Regions from separate parts of the Homo sapiens genome. Here region 1 is linked to region 2. Evidence: promoter capture Hi-C in 16 types of primary human blood cells and fetal thymus (Javierre and others, 2016). All regions are on one chromosome and are shown on one strand. Each heading gives the region's core, a stretch centred on a gene start or on the middle of the fragment in contact. The rest is flanking DNA. Distances are from core to core; before and after follow the strand shown.

Evidence for each region. The method cuts DNA at HindIII sites, captures the fragments that hold promoters and counts their contacts. A CHiCAGO score of 5 or more calls a contact.
Region 1: a contact is called between a fragment that was not itself captured here and the fragment with the promoter of H2AC1 in region 2, in 1 of 17 cell types (megakaryocytes). The highest score is 5.7, in megakaryocytes.

Annotation. Positions count from the first base shown.
Region 1 is chr6:25,878,165-25,880,864 of GRCh38, forward strand. No RefSeq gene overlaps it. Among named protein-coding and RNA genes, the nearest start is that of SLC17A3, 5.3 kb to the left of the region's middle. The HindIII fragment of the contact is 2,575 bases long and covers 130-2,700 here.
Region 2 is chr6:25,725,241-25,727,940 of GRCh38, forward strand. It overlaps H2AC1 (H2A clustered histone 1), which reads right to left and starts at 1,322. Exons shown (of 1, transcript NM_170745.3): 1 at 823-1,322. The coding sequence starts at 1,287. The coding sequence ends at 892. H2BC1 (H2B clustered histone 1) reads left to right here and starts at 1,537. Exons shown (of 1, transcript NM_170610.3): 1 at 1,537-2,105. The coding sequence starts at 1,669. The coding sequence ends at 2,052. It also overlaps a transcript of SLC17A1 not described here. The HindIII fragment of the contact is 12,318 bases long and covers 998-2,700 here.

The sequences.
Region 1 (2,700 bases), core at 167-2,666, 150 kb after region 2:
AAAAAAGATATTATAAAAAGAGATACAATTCACAATGGCAATAAAAGAATGTAACAGCCACAAAAGGATATAAAACCTAGGAATAAATCTAATAAAAGATGTAGAAGATCGTTACGCAGAAAATTGTAAAGCTTTATTGTAAGGTATTGAAGTCGAACTAAATAAAGAGACATAACATTTTTATGAACAGGAACATTCAAAAATGTAAAAATCTCGTCTCTCCAGACTAATCCATATGCCATTCCAACCAATATTCCAAAATAATTTTCCATATAATTTAATTTACTAAATATATCCTCAAATAAAGATGGTGGTTATCTCTTTCTTTGTAATCATTCTTCTACTCTGCCCCTCACCCCCTTTTCAGAGACTCCTTGTAATAAGGCCTATTTAACACTAAATACGTGCTGAACACTATTCTAAGCACTTTACATACAATAACACTTTTACTTCTCATAGCAAACTTCTATGGTAGGTACTATTATTATGCCAGTTTACAGAGAGGTTAAGTAACTTGCTAGTAAGCTACGGAGTCAGGAATCCAACCACCCAGAAAGTCTGGCTGTTGTGTCCATTCTCTTACCCTCCAGACTATTTCATCTGTTACGCAAACATTGAAACCAACTTTCAACATCAGTTTCCTATAAAATTTCCCTCTCATTATTCTTCCTTTTGTATCTTGGCATTACTGTGAATTTCACCTGTATCAATTTTCTTCCAAATTCCTGAGATCACCTGCCTACCTTCCTTCCCTTCCTTCCTTCCTTCTTTCCTTCTTCCTTCCTCCCTCCTTCCCTCCTTCTCTCCTTTCCTTCCTTCTTCCCTGCTTCATTTTTTTCTTATTCTTTCCTTCCTCTTTCCCTTCCTTTCTTATTTCTTTCCTTCTTCCCTAATTCTAAGGATATTTGTCATTTCTAAGAAAACCTTCCTTTTCACATATCTAATTTTTGTTTTAAGTATGTCAGCATATATTTCTGATATTATTCATTTATTTATGTTAAATATTTATACTAACATTCTTCTAGTTTGGAGAGGGGTTCTAGTTTTTCTGTTAATTTTGGTGCTCTGTCTTGAGGATGTTGAGTTGTACTTGTCTATTGGTTTTTGTTACAAGCGATGGTGTTGAATTGCCAAATAGAAGAATACCTTTCCAAAACTTAAATGTTATTTACTACTGAAGTTCAGGTTAATGAACTTTCTGATTCTGAGAACTTGTCTTAGCAGATGAGGGTGAATGTTGGTTGTGCTGCCGGGATGGGTGTATGAGGTGCTGGCATTTTGAATCTGGGAGCTCCATGTTCTTACCTGAAACATTTTTATTTCTTAGCCCCTAGTGACCACATCAATCACTTAAAGTGTAGCTAGATTGCAAGTCTTAGCTTGGAGAAAAATGAAAAGGGTAATTTCTCTCTTATTCTCCTCTTTTTTATTTTATTTTTTCCCTCTGCCTCCTTTATGAAGGGGAGTTTGCTGCGGCTTGACATGGCTTTTCTCAGCTTCCAACATTTACACCAAAAGCTCTTAATTTGGCTCAGTTCCTTTTGATTCCTCCCTCTCCCACTCAGACTCTTATTTTTCTCTTGGTGCTAAACCAGGATGAGGAGCAAGATCATGTCAATGTTGTTACAAGAGAGGATTAAGGGCCAAACCTATTTATTGGCCTTTGTATTGCAGAGTTTAGTTTTTATTGTACTCAGTTGTGGCTTCTATTTGTCAGACACCTGTGCTTACAAGTGATAGAAGTCCAACTGAAATGGCTTTGGAAGAGAAAGAAAGAGAAAAAGAAAATATGGAGACTGAGGTAGGTCACAGAATATAAGAATGAGCAGCTGTAACAAGCACAGTTCCAGGGACCAGAGACTGGAATTAAATCTCTGCCCCAAAATAAATGAAGACCTTTGGAACTCTTATTTCAGCTGTTCTTTTGCACCTTCTCCCTTCTCTTAAATCTACTCCAAGAGGCAACAGACAAGTCTGTTGGCAGTTTTGGAGTCTCATTCATCACATCCATGAAAGCGAAGAAAAAGCAGCTGTGTTCAAAACCTAGGAGAGGCTCTTATTGGCCCAGCCCAGAGTACTTTATTACCATTTGAACCAATTGTTGCAGCCTTGTGGGTGCAGTGCCAAGTTGTCTGATTGGTCACTCCCATCATCCCAATGATTTTCAACCTACAGGTCATTACTCTTATCAATTTAGCACCTCTTATCAATTTAGCCACTATGGTTTTTTAAACAAGATGGATGAGGCCCAAATAGAATGGAACAGATCATAGTGCATCCCACTTAGTAAGAGTCAGGATTATTTTGTGAAACTTTCGATGCTGCAACACATGTGTTTACATATAAGCCTATATATTAGTATTGCAGCACACTTTAAAAATGTATATTTTTTACTCTAGGTCAGTCATACTCCAAAAGGGTTAAAATTCTTCTCTTTACTGCACGTTTTATGTATTTTATTTCTATTGATAATGCCTCTGATTCCCAGACATAATGCTTTTGGTTGGACTTTCAAAAAGGACGGCCTAGAAGATAATTGTTCAACCATGTAATTGCTTCACTTTTCATTACCCTGTGGGTTTATTGGGCAGCTACATCTATTTCTCCTCTGGACTCCAAAGTCAAAGGTTGTGTTTTGTACGCATGCTTCTTTCTTTACTCTAGGTCAAACTCTATTCCACAGTCCAGTCTGGGAACTGA
Region 2 (2,700 bases), core at 72-2,571:
CCTTCTAGTCCCATTCCTGCCTGAGTCTAACACTAGTATCTCACCATCACATATGGCGTAAGGCTTCTTTTTGACATATTTTACTTACATTTTAAGAAATAATTCTATTATTCTTTACAAAGTACGTGAAACCACAGGTATCAAATATATATGCTTACCCAAATTTTAAGATTAACTTACTTACATGCCACATTTAATTATGAGTATTTCGTGAAACTACCATATTTGAAAGGAAATTCTCTAAAATGTACTTTAACCAGCCAGACTGATGTTACCTGGATTTAAACAGGAAGATTACACCTCTCCTGCTTGTAATGCAATTTTCACTTCCATGTGTAACCCTTAACATAACTAACATACATAAATCTAGTTTGAGATAGTCTCGCTCATGTCACCCAGACTGGAGTGCAGTGGAGCAATCAATCTTCGTTCACTGTAACTTTCGCCTCCCGGACTCATGAACAACCCTCCCACCGCAGCCTCCCGAACAGCTGGGACTACAGGCCTGCATCACCAGACCCAGCTAGTTTCTGTGGGGACAGGGTCTCAATTATGTTAACGGTCAAGCCCCAGGCTTGAACGACCCTCCCGCTCCAACCTCCACTGAAGTGCAAGTACTGACTGCTCACAAGCGTTAAGCCACCTCGCCCAGTGACATATATAACCAAAATTACCTCAAACTAATGGCCGATGGAACGCTCCTTGAAAATTCAGTCCCCGTACATTCCCGAAATGCGCTTAAACGGGCATTTGTGACAGGCAAGTAAGATGGCTGGTTAACAGCAGTAACGTTTTGTAACGTACAGCCTTTTTCTGAGACGGTAGGTGGCTCTGAAAAGAGCCTTTTGTTTTTTCTGACACAGAAGTCTTTTTACCAATGACAACCTTAAGTTACTTGCTTTGGGCTTTATGGTGGTGACTCTCAGTCTTCTTGGGCAGCAGCACTGCCTGAATGTTAGGCAGGACTCCGCCCTGGGCAATGGTCACGCCGCCCAAAAGCTTATTGAGTTCCTCATCATTGCGGATCGCTAGCTGCAGGTGGCGGGGAATAATGCGAGTTTTTTTGTTATCGCGAGACGCATTGCCTGCCAGCTCAAGGATTTCTGCTGTGAGATACTCTAACACTGCCGCCAAATACACTGGTGCGCCTGCCCCTATCCGCTCTGCATAGTTTCCCTTACGAAGCAGACGATGGATCCGGCCTACGGGAAACTGCAAACCCGCTCTAGAAGAGCGAGACTTAGACTTGGCGCGTGCTTTTCCTCCCTGCTTCCCTCGTCCAGACATCTCCTCGCATCAAATTGCAGCAACACGAGAACCACATTTCTAGGGCTGCTACTGGGCCTATTTATAGTCTGACTGAGGTTGGCATTTGCTATCTGATTGGCTGATGGCCGTCTACCCAATCAGAAAGTCGTACTAGAATCGCCTCATTTGCATTCACGCCACTTCCCATTGTCCAATCAGATTTTGGATACCGAACGCGGCGTTTGAGGGCCGTGCCTATAAATACCGCATCTTTCATCCTCCAGTTCTGTTTGTTTACTTGGCGAGACTTGGAGCTGAGGTCATTTGGAGCTGTTTAATACTGAAGAGCTGTTGAGCACTGGAAAGTGCTGTGTAACCCTGGAAAAGAACCGTGTAACGCTGCAGAAGTGTGTGGTAGCTATGCCGGAGGTGTCATCTAAAGGTGCTACCATTTCCAAGAAGGGCTTTAAGAAAGCTGTCGTTAAGACCCAGAAAAAGGAAGGCAAAAAGCGCAAGAGGACCCGTAAGGAGAGTTATTCTATTTACATCTACAAAGTGCTAAAGCAGGTCCATCCGGACACTGGCATCTCTTCGAAAGCTATGAGCATTATGAATTCCTTCGTCACTGATATCTTTGAGCGTATAGCGAGCGAGGCATCACGTTTGGCTCACTACAGCAAGCGCTCCACCATTTCTTCCAGAGAGATTCAGACAGCAGTGCGCTTGCTACTGCCGGGAGAGCTGGCTAAACATGCTGTGTCTGAGGGCACCAAGGCTGTCACTAAGTACACCAGCTCCAAGTAAGCCTGCTAAGTAAACGTCATTTCTAACCCAAAGGCTCTTTTCAGAGCCACTTAAACATACTGAAACAGCTGTGGGCTTCGTTTTTGTGTAGTTTCTAACCGTAAGGGTTTTTTTTTTTTTTGAGGCGGAGTCTCACTCTCCCAGGCTGGAGTGCAGTGGCGGAATCTCGGCTCACTGCAAGCTCTGCCTCCTGAGTTCACGCCATTCTCCTGCCTCAGCCTCCTGAGCAGCTGGGACTACAGGCTCCCACCACTACACCCGGCTAATTTTTGTATTTTTAGTAGAGACGGGGTTTCACCATGTTGGCCAGGATGGTCTCAAACTCGATCTGGTGATCACCCACCTCGGTCTCCCAAAGTGCTGGGACTACAGGCGTGAGCCACTGCGAATATATCCAAATCAGCTGTGGGCCGAGGGTAGACGAACTAGTTGCAGCAAGACAATCCTTGCTAGGCACCGTGACTCGCCTGTAATCCCAGCACTTGCAGAGGTCGAGGCTGGCGGTTCATGAGGTTAAGAGACGGAGACCATCTTGGCCAACAAGGTGAAACTCCGTCTCTACTAAAAATACAAAAATCAGGTGGGCGTGGTGGCGTGCACTGTAGTCCCAGCTAATTGGGAGGCTGAGGCAAGAGAATCGCTTGAACC